Regions from separate parts of the Homo sapiens genome. Here regions 2, 3, 4, 5, 6 and 7 are each linked to region 1. Evidence: promoter capture Hi-C in 16 types of primary human blood cells and fetal thymus (Javierre and others, 2016). All regions are on one chromosome and are shown on one strand. Each heading gives the region's core, a stretch centred on a gene start or on the middle of the fragment in contact. The rest is flanking DNA. Distances are from core to core; before and after follow the strand shown.

Region 1 (2,587 bases), core at 61-2,560:
ACTTCTCCCAGGCCTGCTGCGAAGATGAAGCCAGCAAATGCACGCCCTCTCTTAGCTCTGGACCGGGCAGGTGAAAAGCAGGGAGGTGTTCATAAAAGCAGTCCCCACCGCTGAAGGGTCCTCAACTCGGGGTTCTAGTCCCAGCTCTGCCCTGGCCTAGCAACCCCTTCCCGCTGCAGGGACCAAGGCGGTGGGCAGGTCCCTCACCCGTGCTGAGACCGGGACAGGAATGCGCACCTCTCCCCACCCTCGGACGCCCCGGCGGCGCCGCTGCAGAAGTCGGGAGGTCGGACAAACGCGAGGAGTAAGGAAAAAGAGGAGGAAGGGAAGGAAGGAGGAAGAACGAAGTGAGGAAAGAGGATGTCAGGGAAGAAAGGGAGTAAAGGAAGAAGGAAGGGAGAGGGGGACAGAAAGGAGGAGGACGGAAGGAGGAAGGGAAGGAAGAAAGACGGAAGGGAAGGGAGAGGAAAAAGGGGAGGAAAGAAGAAAGGGAAGGGGGAGGAAGGAAAGGGGGAGGAAGGAAGGAGGAGGAAGGTGAGGAAGGTAAGGAAGGAAGGGAGGCAGGGAGAGGGGAAGGAAGGAGGAAGATAAGGAAGGAGGGGAGGTAGGAAGAAGGGAAGGAAGGAGGAAGGAAGGGAAGGGGAGAAAGAAAGGAAGGGAAGGGGTAGGAAGACAGGGAGGAAGGAAAAAAGGAGGAAGGTAACGAAGGAAGGAAGGAGAAAGTAAAGTAAGGGGGAGGAAGGAAGGAAGAAGGGAAGGGGAGGAGGGGAAGGGCGGCCACTGACCTGCTTGAAGGTGCTGCTGAGGAAGTAGACGAGCGACAGCCCGAAGACCAGGGCGAGCACCCACCTCTTCCGCAGAAGCCGGCGCCACACCATGGCCGCCAGGTTCACCATCCCGGCGCGGACGTGGGGCGCGGCGGCCGGGGCGCGGAACGCGGCAGGCCCGGGTCCCGGGCGGCATGGCCCCTACGCGCCCGGCAGCCCCATCCCTCCAGGCAGGCGCCGGCCCCGCCGCCCGCAGCCCAGTCTGCTCCCGGCAGCCTTGGGCGCAGCCCCACGTGACCCCGCCCTACGCCCCGCCTCCGCTCCGCAGCGACAAGGGCTAGTCGCGCAAGATCTTCTCACCATTGGTCCCTAAGGAACGGCGGCCTCCTATTGGTTAAGTGCCGGGAAAGGGGGCGGACAATCGCGTGAGTGCTGCGGGCGTAGCTGTGCCCGGGTCCTAGCGCCGGACCCGGCGACGCCAAGAAACCACCCAATAGGAGGCCGGAAGCATCGGAAGTCACATGCTGCCCAGGCTGCGCGGGTGATTGGCTTGGCTGGACCTGAATGATGCGGCTGTGATTGCTGAATTGTCTGGGCAGGTAAAAAGAGAACGCGATTTTTTTTTCTTTTCTCCCATCATGGTCTGTGTAGTCTCCTGCCCTTGCAGTCCCAGAGCGTTTTGCGCTGTGTGTTGGTTGCAGGGATGAAAAGCGCTCGCGACGTTGTTCCCGAAGTGCACCTGCCGGCTTCCAGTCCAAGTGATGCAGGCGATGCTCCTCTGAGTGCATTTCGGTGCAGTCCTGTAACGGGCCCCAGGGGCGCAACTTGAACCATCGCAAGCATCGAAAAGTCTCGGTGCGGTCCTTCAAAGGGACATAGTGGGATGTACAGAGCAGAGGATTAAAAAGCGTTTCATTCATTCAGATGCATCCCGCGTGCAAAAATTTATTCCAGAATTATGTACGGCCTGCTTCCGACAAAGAATCCGAAGCCTCTTCCAATACAAGCATCCGAAAGTAGAGTTTCGAGCATTCGATTTAGGAGTTAAATGTGTGGATGAGAACTTTGGAATATGAATTTTATTTTCCCCCAAGGATTTGCAATGTGGGATAATGGAGGGAGGGGCGAGAGGAGGATTAAGTTGAGATTGCAAATTCTTGAAAAATATTTATATAATGACCTTTTCTTGATATATGAAGATGCTGCTGCTGACCGGTTTGTTACCTAATTTTTCAAAAGAGAAAGGAGGCTTCACTGGCGGGTCATTTTTAATCAGTGGCCCTAGTGACACCATTGCTGCCCCCTCAAGAAGCCTGGTCAGGATTAGGAAGTCATTCAACAGCCAATAATCGTGCCCTAAACTGAAGTCAGACACCATCTGACTGATATAGACACCCTATATCCACAATATTGGCTCTGCCTCCAGAGACAAGAAGATATTCACGGAGGCTAAACCTTTTCATGGGAAGTAGATGGCCCTTATTACCTTGCTAGGGTGAAAGGTGGGACAGGGAGCAAGGGATCTAGAAAAGGGGAACTGGGAGACCCATAGATGTTTTATTCATTGAGTAAATACTTGTTGAGCGCCACTCTGTGCCAAACAGTGTCCTGGATGCTGAGGCAGAGGGGTGATCCAAGTAGACAGGATCCCTACTTTCAGGAATGGCATTTATATTCTAATGGGGAGGACAAATCATAAATAAATAAGCAAACATGAACAAATAAGTGCTATGAATAATATAAAACAGGGCAATATTACGGGGAGTCAGGAGAATGAGAAGAGAAGGCCTCTGGGAAGAGACGACATTTGCCCTGCGGGA
Region 2 (2,587 bases), core at 35-2,534, 780 kb before region 1:
AAACACTGGTGTATGTATAATTACAGAAACTGTGTCTCCTCTACAATTAAAAAAAAAATCACATACTTCAAAGGAAGCAGACAGGAAATTATATATGTAAATAATGTATCGAAATTAATAAGAACATCAAGACCTCTAAGTGAACAAACTAAGATTTATGAGAAGCTAACGTGAAAATGCTTACTGAAAAACGTTATAGCCTAAATTAAGACAATTACTATTTTACATGTTAAATTATTTAAATTGACATTCCCCCACAACGAATACTTCCTCGTATTAGATATTTTTTTTCCCAGAGCTTCTGTTCTAAGCTCTGGGGTGGCCCATTTTACTGAATATTGTCTAGTCTTATAAAACAAGTAGATTGAAACATGCCTCACCCAACAGCAAGGCAAAAGAGGTATACACTAGGCAGCAGGAGCCAGAGAAATGCTCAGAGATGCTGCCAATTTCAACGTGTCTGCATGCTGTGATCACTGGGTGAATTTCAAGCACACTCCAGGACAGACATGGTTTGACCCATATGGGTAACAGCCCAGACAAGTGCCATGTTAGCAGATTATTAAAACTGAACCTGTGCTTTCCTCACTTCCCTGCTTGTTTGAAAGAAAACAAAGAAAAAGTGGGACTAACAGGAATGTCTGTCTTCGGGTCTTCCCATCACCTGGGAACTTGAATTCATTGAGGAAATAGCCTTTACAGAGAAAAATCAATACTTTGGTTATGTCCAACCTTCTTCCTGGAGATTAAACTTTCTCATCAACTTCTATTTCTTAACTGCTTCATGATTTAGCGTTCTAGCTAGAAGCAGTTAAGTGTCAAAAAATCTTTTTTAAACGTGACCCTGGAATTGTAAGCAAAGTGGAGGAAGACTGGTAAATCTGGTTCCAGGCAGAGCAGGATGCCCAGGGCAAACATTACAACCCTCTATAATTACCTGGCACAACAGAATTTTCTAGTGGTGTCTCATTAGGTATTAATGACATGAAATAATTACTGCTAAAGTGACCTTTTTGTCAAGGGAATATAAACAAGAGAATCGTTTAACACCAAAATAACACGGTAATAAGTGAAAATTGCATCTTGATAGGATTTGGGCGTGCGGTGAATTCCAAAGCACGATTTCCTTTTTATACTGGCTTGACTGTAAATGACAAGCGGCAAAGACTGTTTTCAATATGTGGCTTATGCTTCTGCAGTATGTCTTACGAGGTTTGCTTTTAAAAACTCATTGACGAACTGTACTTTTATAAAGATTTTTAGTGGTTCTTTGATGCCCAGTTGGTAACAAATACCTTTGCTCATGACTTCCTGAACAGTAAAACCAAAAACTACATAATCACATGGTTGGAGGGAATGAACTGGTGTGAAGAGCAGAATCTGGGTGATGCAAACTGCTGAAGGCTGATGGCTTATCTACATCTAACTTGGAAGACATTTAAATGCATTCATTTATCCTACCTCAAAGAGATTTAGCTGCGGTTGCTGAATTGGTACAGGTGGGGGCACTTATGAAAATGACATTCCTACTATAAAGCCAACACTAATTGTTGAATATAGTACCACCCAACGTATGAGCTAAGCATTGAAGCTACTGAATGCTTGTAAAAGTACCTCCTAGTTCTGATTATTTAGCTGCTGCAGGACTATATAAAAGTTATATATGTAAGGCAGTAACTGGATGAGATCACTATTATTTTTTAACCAAAAAGTTGGCCTCACTTTTCTCAGTCTTTCTTCAACAGTGCAGCTGTAACATGGATACAAGCCTTTTAGTTTGCAAAGCATTTCTCATGCAATCATCCTCATCCCTCATTTGCAGATGAAGTAACAGAAGGTTGAGTTGTCTCAATAGCTTTATCTCTGGATTCTGATAATGTTAGGTTCAGAACAACGTATATTTCTAAAATGATGAAGGCAGATTAAAAGCAAGGCCTTTCCAATTATTCAAATGTTTATTGTAAGCTCTGCCAAGTCCTGGGGTTTAACCATTTTTAATGAGAGATTTTGCAAGGGCAGTATACGAAATATACCCTCGCAACTCCTGCTAGAACATGTGGCTTTTCCTAGCTGATGGACCCAAGAAGGGAACAGCATGGTAGATGGTGTGCAGCCAACAGGGACTTGCGTGTGGTGTATCAGATGCCAAACTCCCGTCACCAGCCTGTGAATCAGGAAAACAGCAGAGAGAGATGTATCTGTCATTTCTAAGAGACATCATAAAGAAACTGGCTGAGACTGTGTAGAGAAAGGCGGTGGAATATAAGATACAGACTTGTCATTTGTGCTAGAATTGACCACAATCTTACAGCTGAGAGACACCATTAGAGCTCATCGACTCACAGCAGTTGATTCGGTGTTGTGTGTGTTAGCATGTAAAAACTGATGGGGGAGTGTACTTGTGCCCTGGAGCATGAGAATACCATTTCAGAACAGCTGTTAGGGGGGTGATCAGGGTGGTAAAATTCTACATCCATTGCACTGACTGGAAGGTAGAGGCCTGGCTACTAATCTAGGGCTATTCAATACATATACATGCACCTCTCAAACAGGTGTAGATAATTTTATACAAAGGCAGGAGAGGAAG
Region 3 (2,587 bases), core at 61-2,560, 750 kb before region 1:
CTTTTAGGGTTATCACATGCAATCAAACCAACATTACAAGTTGGTCCTTTCAGGTAATTGTAATGTACCCTTAAATTGCTATCTGTCTCTCTAAAACTTGGACTAGGCTCTCTAAAAAAAAAAATGTTTCTTCACTCAAGCCAATTCCTCCTGTACAAGAGGAGGCTGCTGAACACTACCTGATTGCTAACGGACAAAGAATTAGCAGATTCCTGCCTACTGTTGCTAACTGAGACATATGCCCACTAAAATCTCCTAAGTAATCCCTACTCATAATATTTTCCCATAAGATAACATTAAAATTTTATGGGCCATCTGTTCTGTTACAGACATTTGGAGATCACCAATAGCAGGGGCCACTGAAGCAGTGAGTATGCTGATCGCCTTTTTTTTTTTTAAAGTAAATAGGACAAGGAGATTCTGCTATTAATCTCCATGACGCTAAATGGGTGCTTATGGCAGGGAATATAATAAACCTGCAAAAAGTAAACTACCTGTTCACCAGCAGGAGAGCCCGTATTATTATCCCTTACTAGAGTAGATGAAGTGAAGGCTTACTAAGCCCCGACAAAATCCTCTAGTGTATACTCTTCCTAAGGAGGTATCAATTACTGCCGAATAAGCAACCCTAGTGAAGTCATTAAGAAAAATTTAAAAGAGTGTCTGTCTGTACCCTCTTAAAAAGATCTGGCAGTGCTTTTTACATTTTGTAACTTATGTTGAAGGTTCCATTCAAGGAAATGGCTGGGCTTTAAAACTGCTTACACAAATTTTCTGTTAATTATGATTTAATAGTATTATATATGCCCTGACCAGACACTGTTCAGAAATGAATGTATCCAAGGCAGTGACTTAATTGATGTCATTACATCATGTTAGCATCTCCTCATTTCTTTGTAGCAACAACGTAAATTTACTATTCCGTGCCTACTCATACATTTATAGATCATGAATGTCCTGTTTTGGAATATTTTGCAATTCAGCTTGGAATCTTATTTAAAAACCACTTTCATAATGTTTACATGCCTATCATAGTACTAAATATTTTACAGATATTAATTTCATTTTGCTGAATACAAAGACATTAGATGTATCAGATACAAAGAACTTAGTGCATATATACTTTGGCATAAGAAATGTGGCACTTATTCTTCAAAGACAGACATGATTCTATTTTTTTTAAAGCAACAGGAATTCATATACTAAAGATGTAAAATTATCTGCCTGGTTTTTACATTATTATAGGAATTATATTTTTAATCAGTATCAAAGTTTCAGTATTAAGATGTCATGTTAAAACACAACAGGGACATTATTCATTAAACTTATGTTTCAATTCAGAAATTTGCAAAAGACACATTTTTACACTGTTGTCAGGAACTCTCACCTACTCACCCTGTCCCTCAATCCATCCAGTAAATAAATACAAAGAGTAGATGTGCTCTTTTGGTAAAGCTCATCTTCTACATAGCCACACTTTCCCCTGGTGAGCAATATTCTTCAACTTTTAGCACATAAATGGAGAAGAGAGAACTGATGGGATTTTAAGACGTGTGGTAAGAATGGGAGGGGAACGTTTTCTAAATCTAACAAATATAAAGCAAAGATGGGAAAGCAATTTGCTTCCAGAAAAATTGGCCAATTCAATTCTCTTCTTCATCCACCTGTTTGCAAATTTTCTCTGAGATTTACTTTCAAGACATTTGTCTTGAAATTTAGTCATCACTATAAACAATCAGAGGATCCAAGTCATAAAAAGCAATTTTCACAGTAACTTCCTCACCTCGTATACAGCACTCAAGTCCCTGAAGAAAGTTTTGGCTCCTTCGAGCAAGGCCTCATTTTCTGGACACACCACAATATAGGCAACATCACGGTGGCCCCCATATGGGTCCAACAAGAGCCTCTCCCAAAACGGCAAGGAGAATGGCGAGATGGTGAGGAAATCCTTGTCATAGCCTACCAGCAGAGTGGGGATGGGCAACGGCTCAGGAGATTCTTCCGAACCTAAAATGACATTGTAGTGTAGAAAGGTGCTAGAGAGTTTTTCCCACAACCTTACAATTTTGAAATTCCTGGTGCACTGGTCTTAATTCTGGCATCTGAAATGTCACTCCATGTTCACAAGACATTCTTAAAAGTATTTTTGAAATCATCTAATTAAATGGTCACTGATGAGGACTCTTAATTAAGTAAGTCAGAATTTGTTTATAAAGGTTCAGTAAGATCAGAGGGCAGACTAGAACAAGTTAAAATTAACTTTCCAAGCAGCACTACATCATTTCCTTCAAGATAAGCATTATGATTCTGACTATGATGAAGTAGACAGAACTGGCCCAGAAGTCCATCCAGATGAAAATGCAGTGAGGATTGGGAAAATGAGGAGAATCTAAAAAATGCACTTTTTAGGGATTAGCTTCCTCACTGACCTGGATTATGCCAAGGGTGGTAGGAAACTTGACTCCAAAAGTAACTTTAGGAAAACAAAGAGATTATAAAACTAAATGGTCAAAGAAAAAGACTCCCCTATTTTGTTAGTGACGCAAGGACTTGACAGTAACTAACGCTGCTCTTCACTGAACAGCAC
Region 4 (2,587 bases), core at 43-2,542, 730 kb before region 1:
AATGAGAAGGTGTTAAAGAATGATTTGCAATGGAATTATGTTTCTGCTTCAGAGTATCCACATAAGCTACCCTTTTTTTTCCTCTTGTAGAATAATTTGGTTTCTTAGGGCAAAGAATATACTCAAAAAAAAGAGGTTCATCTCTTTGTCAGCATATATGGTAAAACTAGTTGATCTCAAAAGGAAACACAAAAACTTTAGTATGCATCTTGAAAAGGACCACTGAAATCAAATATCCAATATCCTTGAGTGAATTATATTTATAAAAACAGAAACATTTTACACAGTCTTATAATAGAGTATCAGTTTGAAAAATCACTTGTGCAGCATTTATTCTACTAGGAAAGGACTATTAGAAAAACAAACCTAAAACATGTTTTTCTACATTTTAAGCTATAAAAAGCTAATTCTTAACTGGAAAACAAAGGAAAGGAATTCAAATTAAGATGGTTTCTGTATATGATTAGCTGCCTGCCATCTCAGAACACCAATTTATATAGGTTTTAATTCACAGTTAGAATTCTGTCAAAAGGAAGGGAAATTTCAGATAAAGATAAAGCACCACTAAGTATGAGAATATTATATCTAAGTTACAGGCAGTGAGCCACAATGGCTCAGTCAAGTTTCTCTACCTACTTGGTGGATAAGGAACAGCAGCTCTTCCATCCTTCCCAAGAGGTCGGTCTTCTGTCCCAACTGCAGGCATTTTTGATGAGCGCAGAGCAGGTGATACAGCCTAAGAACAGACGGTGTTATTAAAACAGAGTGACGTGTATATAAGTAGGGCAGCATTCAAATATTTCCTAATGTATGCCTATTGGTAGATGCCTCTTGGTAGAAGCGTTTACCAGGTGAACCTCTAGAAATACCAACAGATAGTGAAACAAAGGAGATGGTTACAAGCTTATCAAGTGTAAGAAACAGTGAATTTTTTTCATGGATCTTGTGAGGGCAGATTGCGCCATCAAAGGAGAGCTTGCAGACCTTAAGCAATTCTTCCCTCCCAAGTCAATTTTCAGGGACACAGTGTTACATTAGGGTGGTGCCTCCAGTAGTAACTGACAATTGGTCTGGTTTCCCTTATACTTGGAAGCAAGCAGCTAAAAGGCATAATCTCAAGCCCTCCAATTCTTTTTTTTTTTTTGCATTTATCACAACAAACTATGTATCTTCTGTACCTATTTTTATAGTTACTATTTATCTTCACCAAAAATAACCTTATTGTGTAAAATTATTGAAATATTCAGAAGGTTTTTCTCTGATCTGTTATTCAAAAACAAACCAAGTGCATTACTGGGCAAGATTATCTTTAACATTAAATGAACTGGTGATGAATTAAAATAAAATATAAAATAAAGCAAAAAATGATTTTTACAAATAGAAGGCCTTTTATTTATTTATACTTATACAATGTCACAACATTGAAATGTAAAATTAAAATTAAATTCAAAGACACATGAGATGACAACTCAGCCAACAGCCTCCCAACTCCATTTACGAGTAGTAAGATGAATTAGCAATATATTCTAAGGTAAACCGCTCATGTGATTAAATGCCAGACTAAAAATCAGAGTAAAGCAAAAACACTCAGAGAAATGAAAATTTGATTGAAAATGTCCAATTCTCCTTTTCATGTTAATATTACTAAAAGTATATTCCCAACAGTTAAACATTTCTTCATTAAGCTTAATAGTAATTCATAATTTATACAAAGAATAAGTTCAGTGGCCCAGAGCAGAAACAATTACCAGGATGGTGGTCATGAACAGATCAGGCAGGCCACTCCAAAATGCTTGCTCTGTTCCTTTCTTTCTCCTCCTTTGACTTGTACCTCCTTTTCTTTTCATATTGGATTCCCATCACCATTGCCAAAGCACCTATCCTAACCCTCTGTATCTTTAAAACCAAACCCAGGCAGCACTTGGCCTCCAGTGGATAGTCAAATTCAATGCCTGGATCAGCAATGAAGAAATGAGTCATTTCTTCTACCAGAGTTTTTCACATTTTCATGTCCTTTTCCTTCATGTGGCCACTGTATAAATTCAGATTCTAGTGTTCCAATCCAACAAAAGTTACCAGATTAGAGGATTCCTGCTTTCGGCATATCAGACTGGAAAAAAAAATAGCCCTTCTGCCAGTTCAGTTCTATACTCAGCAGCCCTCAGAGGAACACATATTAGTACAGTTTAAAATCCAAAACTTTCCTAGACCTATCAGTCTCTAATCATCCAAAAAAACAGACCAATGGTCTGTTCCTTATCCCTGAAAGCTAATCTAGTTCGTTTTTGTTGTTTAATCAAGGCTCATTCCACACTTAAACTAATGTCCCTCCCCCTTCCTCTCAATGACCCCTTCTTTCCATATTTCAAGTACAATCCATTCTTCCAGACCATTATGATCTCCTCATCTTCTAAGTACTTATAACAGTAATGGTATATAATATCTGTTAGATACATTTTATTTTAAAGTTTGGGCTTTAGAAATGTTTCCTACTTAACTTTCAAGCCTTAACTTAAACACTGCTCCCCATCACTTGGTCACGTCGTATCTGAATGTCCAGCAACTTTAGATTCAGGTCTATTATTGT
Region 5 (2,587 bases), core at 88-2,587, 720 kb before region 1:
CTTAATGTGCATTGTTCTTTATTTCCTAACTCTATTTAAAGTATGATTTAAAAGAAATTTTTTTAAAAATTATTTTTGTAGAGACTGGGTCTCACTATGTTGCTCAGGCTGGTCTTGAACTCCCAGGCTCAAGTGATGCTCCCGCCTTAGCCACAAAAGTATGATATTTTGAAGTTTCTTGTTTTAAAATTTCTTATTATTTATACACCTCTCACCTCCCACAATTTTTAAACGAAATAAAATATGGATAGTACAATGTTATCAGACAGCTATGCTTTGAAGCATATACATATCTGTTTAATAATAGCCTGTACAATGTAAACACTGACTCTCTCAAAACAGAAGAAAATCATTCAACATGGAGACCGCAAATGCTGCCTAAAACTTGAACACTCTTGTGGTTCCTGAGACTCCCTAAACATCTGTGGTAATCAAAGAATAACATATAAATGAAATTTCTAACAGTGGGAAAGTTTTAATGTACAAAAGCTTGAAGCATAATAGTTATCGTTTCTGTTTTGACTGTTTTAGAGGTCTGTTGATAAAACAACTCTAAGTAAAATTTGATTTAACTCAAAGTAAAGGACCCAAAGTCCTCTATCTTCTTTCAGTATTTGACCTTGATGGCATTTTCACTGAGTCAGACACAAAAATATAGTTAATATAGTACTGTGAATTACCCAGCCAGTTCATAGCCTTGAAGTGAGTACTTCAATCTTCCAAATAATACGTTTCTGAAGATAAAGGCCACTTTTTCTTAATTCTAATTTTTAACAAAAACTCAGCATGGTCATTAAACGGAATGTCTTTTTTTTAATTTTTTTAAAGAGCTAGATCATATGTCACATCAATCAAGAGAGAGACAGTTATAGACATCACATGTATCGTTGAGTCTTTCTGCTGTTCCTCAATGATCCAAATGGGATAAAAATACTGACTCCAACTAACACAGTTAATCAAGGGTAATTTTTTTGCAATAATGCTTCCAGGAAATTCCCACATCAATTTGGATAATTATGATGAATATAATTATCCATAAGGACAGCAACTGCCTTAGTATGGTCTTCCTCCACACCAATCATGGAAAATAAGCAGAATAATGCTCCACAAAAGTATTCTATGACTTCCATCAGTGACAAAAATCAGAAAAATTAAAAGTGGTCTATAGGGACCTGGTATTCCTAATATTATTGTTCCCAACATTGAAGATTAGAAATAAGTTCTCTTCCCTCATGACTACTTATTCCTCTGTTATTACCATAACTAAATGCTTTTATTCTGAGTGATAAAATGTTGGATGGAGTCAGATGGTCCTCAGCACTTTTACACTCAAGAAAACAGTATTTTAAAAATTCTGATAAGCCATAATTTGCAAATACTGTACAATTTGTACTGTACAGTTTAAGAATTGGGTTTTGAATTTTCTAGTAGTTTTATTATATTTGGGGCAAGAAACAGATGCTTTCATTGAATTAAATCAGAATAGTTTATAGAAAACAAAAAATAAATACAATGGAGGCTAAATGCTCATGACAGGCTTTTACAGCAATTATAATATTTTAGTCAAGTCTGTTAAAATATCAGTGTTTTTTAAAATTATATTGTGTGATATGCTAAGACTATTTCAACCAGTCATCTCTAATAATGACATATTAGACTGAACCAAAAAAAGATTGTTTCCATACGGTTCAATCTAATATTATAACATTTAAAAGCTGTTACTCACAGAAAATTCTGAATTCCAAAGACAAAACTAAGATTTGTAATGCTCAGATCAAAAGGACATGAAGTTATTTTGGTGATATATAGGTGGTAAAGCTGAGAATTAATGAAAATATGAATGTATCAATTACATTTAAATTACAGCTAAATACCTATTACCAATGGAGTTTAAAATTAAAACAAAGTTAGGAACATCGCTGAAGAAACTATACACTGTATAATTCTAGAACTTTGATTCTGATAGAAATTTCAAATACTAAGTATTTGGTTTATCTTCTATAAACCATTACATTCCTAAAACCTTGTTAATAAACACAACAATGAAAACCTTTAATTTGTGACTTTGGTCAATTACTCATTGAATTCTATTTTTCAAGTATTTATTGATTTTCTTTTGTTCTGAAGGAAATTCTACATTTTATTCTTACAAAAGAATACACATAAGACCATCTTATATATGCGATAAGCTTCAGCGAAAAACTAACACACTATTACTACTTAATTATGAAATGGTAGTCTTTTCTTCCTTCTTCAAAATCTGACCCTTATGCTTAGCTTTAAAATGTCCATTTAAGATAAGGTCTCACCCTGCAAAACTTTACTGGGCAAGATGGTTATCCACTCGGTGGCGGATAGGGGTGGAGAGCAGGAACACCCATACTTACCTTGAAATGGTGCAGGTGAAGACTGAGCCATGTGTATATGCTCCTCATTGATCAAATAAATTGGCTGGTGCTGGGCAATCTCCACACTTGTGCATACATTACTTTCTCCATGCAGAAAGAATGTGAAAGCACAGGACAAATGCTCACTACAAAAGAGAGAATGAGAAACTCAACTTTATATTTTGGTAGGAAAGGGTGCT
Region 6 (2,587 bases), core at 25-2,524, 680 kb before region 1:
TTTGAAGAATGATGGAAAAGAAAAATGGATTAAGAGTAAAAAACATAAAGGAGGCACGGAGAAAAAGGCTTTAAATTATTATTTAAATCTGATGTATACACTATTACTTTTTACATAATACAAACTGAAATATACAAGAAACAAAACAAATCACTGTGATATAGAACCCCTTAAAGAAAACGCTTGGAAAATCTTTGTCTTTTCTACACTGCAGGGCAAAAAAACCCTCTAATACTAGAGGTGCAGTATGCAGTTTCACTGCTGGACTGTGTACACTGTGAGAGGAATGCAAACTAAGCGCAAGATTGCTCCTGGAGGGATCACAAAACACTGCCCAGGACACTCTCATCATTCTGTGGGCCTGGAGCATTCTCTGGATCATTAAAACTGTCTCAAGTAGTTGCCACTCTATTCGAATTAGACACATTTCTAATAAGCCTCAAATTAAAAAAAAAAAGTTAATTTTGAAAAATTCACAAAAACAGGCCGGGCGTGGTAACTCACGCCGGTAATACTATCACTTTGGGAGGCTGAGGCAGGCAGATCACTTGAGGTCAGGAGTTTGAGACCAGCCTGGGCAACACGGTAAAACCCCGTCTCTATTAACATACAAAAAATTAGCCGGGCACTGTGGCGGGTGCCTGTAGTCCCAGCTACTCGGGAGGCTGAGGCAGGAATATTGCTTGAACCCAGGAGGTGGAGGTTGTAGTGAGCCGAGATCATGCCACTGAACTCTCCAGCCTGGGCGACAGAGCAAGACTCCAAGGGAAAAAAAAAAAAAAAACTAAAAATTTGCAAAAGACAATATAAAGACAATGATTCTGTACACTTTTTTCACATTACAATTAACTGAAAGTACTACTTTGGGTTAAAAACAGTATTAAAAATTGGAGAAATATTTTAAGGTCTCAGATGTTAAGAGCAACAGTATGTATGCCAATTGTTAGACTGTATTGTGGAAGGAAATTTTAGGTTCAACTATTATCTTAAGCACACACACACACGAGATACTTGCTTTACGGAGCTTTGACTTTTGCTAAATTAATTCACTAAAGATAAATGGAAGTGAAAGCAATGAGATGAGAAGGAAGTTATGACACATACATGGCATCATCTTTAAAATGAGAAACTGAAAGCTCAAGATGATGGCATGTGGGCATATGTGTCTTCTTTTATTTTCTATCTCCTGCCTTCTTCTCCTCCCATCTCTGAGACTCCACTCATGCCAATAAACAAGCTGATCATTAAGTTAAATGCTTCTATATGAGGTCTCAGGAAACTAACTTAGTAAGACTATAGATTACTTTTCTCATCTTTAACTGAGAACATTCTAAGTTATTTTAAAGCAACTGGGTGGGTAGAGGACAAGATTTAACTTTCTTTTTTAAGTCATGAGACTCGTTTATTTTCACAGCTAAACATTAACTGTTTTTTTTAATTCCATATTATAAAATTGTTGTATTTAAATCCAGATGCATTTTTATTTTTAAATATAGAGTAGTTACAAATAATATGTATCTTTTATTTTTAAGGTATACAATAAATTCTCAATTTCTCAACACTAGGAAAGGCAATGTCAGAGGGTTATACAATTAGGCAGAACTGAGTTTACATCTTACCTATTATAAGCTGCCTTAAGTCAATTAACTTCTCGGTATTTCAGTTTTCAATGCTACAAAGTAAGATAATAATGCCTACCTCATAGATATATAAACATAAAATAAGATAAAATAAGTGATAACCTTCAGGACATGATAGTTACTAAAATTAAGTACAGTCTCCACCACAAATCAGAATGAAATCATCCCTTCATCAATGCGCATCCCAAATTACCTAATGTGAGTTTGGGAATAGATTTTAAATTTTACAGTTCAAATAAGCATGTTACAAAACATATCAGAAAGGAAAATTCAAGGCCAGGCGTAGTGGCTCACGCCTGTAATCTCAGCACTTTGGGAGGCCGAGGCAGGCTGATCATGAGGTCAGGAGATCGAGACCATCCTGGCTAACACAGTGAAACCACATCTCTACTTAAAAATACAAAAAATTAGCCAGGCATGGTGGCGGGCACCTGTAGTCCCAGCTACTCAGGAGGCTGAGGCAGGAGAATGGCGTGAACCCGGGAGGCAGAGCTTGCAGTGAGCCGAGATCACACCGCTGCACTCCAGCCTGGGAGACAGAGCAAGACTCCACATCGAAAAAAAAAAAAAAAAAAGGAAGGAAAATTCTATCCGAAATCCAAATTATGAACTATTACAGTCACATGCTAACATTAATACCTTGAATCAATTCTCTTCTATTGATTTTCTTTTTTCTGGGTATGGTGGTGCATGCCTGTAGTGCAGTTTTTTGTTTTTTTGAGATGGGATTTTGCTCTGACACCCAGGCTGGAGTGCAGTGGAGCAATCTCAGCTCACTGCAACCTCCACCTCCCAGGCTCAAGTGATCCTTCCACCTCAACCTACAGAGTAGCTGGGACCATAGGCATGAATCACCAAGACCAGCTAATATTTTGTATTTTTGGTAGAGACAGTGTTTCACCATGTTGGCCAGGCTTGTCTCGAACACCTGAGCTCAAGCAATCTGC
Region 7 (2,587 bases), core at 50-2,549, 650 kb before region 1:
AGCTGACATCGCACCTGTGCACTCCAGCCTGGGTGACAGAGCGGAACTCTGTCTCAAAAAAAAAAAAAAAAAAAAAGAATTAAAAAACAAGGTATATCTTTTACTATAAAAAAGAATTTAAAAAACAAGGTATCTCTTTTACTATAAGGTATTTTCAATCCTTCTTGAAAATAGCACATATTTAAATATATTTTACTTTAAAGTGTAAAAATCAATAATTATTGTTGACATATACTGTTTAGACCACTAATAGCACAAATGAAAAATAAAAACTAACAGTCATAACTTCTTTTAAGTTATTAAGAAAAAAAGGAAAAACTAGAAGAGTTGGATAGAAAGCAAATACTGTATTTAACTATCATCACCTCTGGCTGAAGTGGTCTTTCAATTTAACATTCCCCTATATATGTTTATGAAACTACAGAGCAAAGTACCTGGTACACGAAAGATACTTTTTAAAATTATAGCTACCACTATTAAGCTTTATCACAAGCCCTTATTAAGTGTTTGTCTGCTCCCTTCCTGGAATCAACAGTTTTGTGTTTTGCAGCTACTTGTAAAAACTACTGCAAAAGCTCTACATTCAGTATCTTCACTTCAACTCCCATTTATAATGCAAGCTACTGCAATCTGAATTTCACCACTTGAAACTGCCAATGTTATAGTCACCATGACTACATAATTGCCAAATCTAATAGTCTTTATAGTACATGTTTTACATGCCTCTATGGCAGACACAGCTGATCAATCTTGAAACTTTAAAATTCCATGGTTCTGGTAACACCAGTCTCTCTTGGTTCTCATTTCCAGTTGACTCTTCAGTCTCCTTTATGTATTCTTGTTTCTGTACCCATTCTACAAATGTTGATGATCCCCAAGACTCTAACTCACTTTTCACACAATCCCCAAATATATTCAAATGGCAGAATACTGTAACTCCCTCAGATAGACTCTCAGAAAATGAGTAAATGTTTTATAGAGCTACCAAAAAAAAGCTGTAAAACTATTATGCATGATTATGTAAGTCCAAATTGTCCCATTAATATTTGTCTATGGACTTCCCATCAGCAAGCCCTTATTAACAGATAGGCACCACATGTGCAAAGTAAATTTATGAGTAAAACAGAAAAAATCATAGATAGCTACTGATCTCATTTTTCTGGACACTAAAAAGAGGCTTGCTTTACCGTTCACACTTGAAGTGTCTGCTCACCTTCTAGACTAGGGATCCCTTCTCCGCCTTCTTATCTGGGCATCTCTAAAAGCTAAATAACACAGATGACTGGGCTATAACAGAGTCTGGGGAAAAAGAGGAGGATGGAGAGAAGGCGTACCACTCAAGAACAGGGCAGGTTTGCCCATGAGTCAGTGATAGCTAATTAATTCAGAAAATGGAATAGCAGGTTGTTATCTTTGAGGAGATAAAGGGGAGGGGAGGATGAAATAAGGAAAGGAAGGGAAAGTTTCAAAATACTAAATATGGTTCTCCTACATCAAAACATTTCTGGTATGAGTTAATAATGTATTGTTACACAAAATACACGCTTTGCTATTAAACCAAAAAACGTATTTACATTTCTTAAATATGTATGTTAGGTAATCTAAGAAAATAAAAAAGAAGTTTTAAAAAGTCTGAAGTTAAGAGGAGAGAAGACAAAAACGATAGTTAAAGTAATATACTTTCAGTGTGTATGGGTATATGTGTGGTGGGGGGGGTGTGTGCACATGTGCTATCAGCACATACAAAAGTAATTAGAATATCTGAAAACATGTGATGCTCTCTGGAGTATCACCCAAGAACAGAGTAGATTTGCCCAAGAGTCAGTGACAGCAAATTAACCCAGAAAATGAATTAGCAAGTTACTATTTTTGTTAACTTAGCTTCTGTATACCTGATACCAGAAAAGATCAAAGGCCCACTGTTATTGAGGGCAATAAACTGTTTCCTAAAAATGACATTCAAAGACTAAAGTGTATAGATTTCAAATTCTCCTGTAATAAAATGTGGATTGAGATTAAATTAGAAAACAAATGCCTTCCCAAGAGAGAGAACCTGCATGATTGGAATAATTTCCAAATGATTTTCACCGGTTTGTTTTAAAACATATTCTGAATGCAAAAGCTTTTTTTCAAGTTCAACCTAGACCTTAGAAAACAGAAATTTTGTATGTTTGATTTTAGTTGTCACCACTCAAGGGCAAACCCAAAGTTGTATTTTCTACTTATTCTTTTCCCAAGGATATGAATAATAAAAGATGTCAATATAGAGAAAAAATTATATTGAATGAATTTCTATGTTTCTAAAACTACCTAATCAAATACATATTTTTAATATATAATATGCAAATAATCTACTTTAGAATTCTCCTGAACATCAACTCATATCAAATATTAAGAACCCTTTTAGGAGTCCATTAGTAAATGAAATCATAGCACAAGAACTTTAAAGGAGTACAGAAAGAAATTATAGCACAAAAAATCATATGCTATTATTCTAACAGGGAGAACTCATTCATCAGTATTTTTTCACCATGATTAGAATATCTAAAATATGCAGTATGAGAAATTAGTAATACTAATAATCAGT

The links. The method cuts DNA at HindIII sites, captures the fragments that hold promoters and counts their contacts. A CHiCAGO score of 5 or more calls a contact.
Region 2: a contact is called between a fragment that was not itself captured here and the fragment with the promoter of RNFT2 in region 1, in 1 of 17 cell types (monocytes). The highest score is 5.8, in monocytes.
Region 3: a fragment that was not itself captured here is called in contact with the fragment with the promoter of RNFT2 in region 1 in 1 of 17 cell types (monocytes); the score reaches 6.9 in monocytes.
Region 4: a contact is called between a fragment that was not itself captured here and the fragment with the promoter of RNFT2 in region 1, in 1 of 17 cell types (naive CD4 T cells). The highest score is 7.7, in naive CD4 T cells.
Region 5: a contact is called between a fragment that was not itself captured here and the fragment with the promoter of RNFT2 in region 1, in 1 of 17 cell types (monocytes). The highest score is 5.5, in monocytes.
Region 6: a fragment that was not itself captured here is called in contact with the fragment with the promoter of RNFT2 in region 1 in 1 of 17 cell types (total CD4 T cells); the score reaches 5.2 in total CD4 T cells.
Region 7: a contact is called between a fragment that was not itself captured here and the fragment with the promoter of RNFT2 in region 1, in 1 of 17 cell types (monocytes). The highest score is 5.2, in monocytes.

Annotation. Positions count from the first base shown.
Region 1 is chr12:116,737,005-116,739,591 of GRCh38, forward strand. It overlaps RNFT2 (ring finger protein, transmembrane 2), which reads left to right and starts at 1,311. Exons shown (of 11, transcript NM_001382266.1): 1 at 1,311-1,366. It overlaps SPRING1 (SREBF pathway regulator in golgi 1), which reads right to left and starts at 1,065. Exons shown (of 5, transcript NM_024738.4): 1 at 786-1,065. The coding sequence starts at 896. RefSeq lists enhancers at 1-565, 1,334-1,593 and silencers at 754-803, 884-1,143. The HindIII fragment of the contact is 21,202 bases long and covers 1-2,587 here.
Region 2 is chr12:115,955,969-115,958,555 of GRCh38, forward strand. No RefSeq gene overlaps it. Among named protein-coding and RNA genes, the nearest start is that of LINC02463, 71 kb to the left of the region's middle. The HindIII fragment of the contact is 2,639 bases long and covers 1-2,587 here.
Region 3 is chr12:115,984,483-115,987,069 of GRCh38, forward strand. It overlaps MED13L (mediator complex subunit 13L), which reads right to left. Exons shown (of 31, transcript NM_015335.5): 19 at 1,784-2,007. Among named protein-coding and RNA genes, the nearest start is that of LINC02463, 100 kb to the left of the region's middle. The HindIII fragment of the contact is 3,827 bases long and covers 1-2,587 here.
Region 4 is chr12:116,002,367-116,004,953 of GRCh38, forward strand. It overlaps MED13L (mediator complex subunit 13L), which reads right to left. Exons shown (of 31, transcript NM_015335.5): 14 at 637-736. Among named protein-coding and RNA genes, the nearest start is that of LINC02463, 120 kb to the left of the region's middle. The HindIII fragment of the contact is 782 bases long and covers 902-1,683 here.
Region 5 is chr12:116,020,069-116,022,655 of GRCh38, forward strand. It overlaps MED13L (mediator complex subunit 13L), which reads right to left. Exons shown (of 31, transcript NM_015335.5): 5 at 2,388-2,533. Among named protein-coding and RNA genes, the nearest start is that of MIR620, 130 kb to the right of the region's middle. The HindIII fragment of the contact is 1,700 bases long and covers 488-2,187 here.
Region 6 is chr12:116,059,812-116,062,398 of GRCh38, forward strand. All of the region lies in intron 4 of MED13L (mediator complex subunit 13L), which reads right to left. Among named protein-coding and RNA genes, the nearest start is that of MIR620, 88 kb to the right of the region's middle. The HindIII fragment of the contact is 3,433 bases long and covers 1-2,587 here.
Region 7 is chr12:116,091,066-116,093,652 of GRCh38, forward strand. All of the region lies in intron 4 of MED13L (mediator complex subunit 13L), which reads right to left. Among named protein-coding and RNA genes, the nearest start is that of MIR620, 56 kb to the right of the region's middle. The HindIII fragment of the contact is 1,641 bases long and covers 480-2,120 here.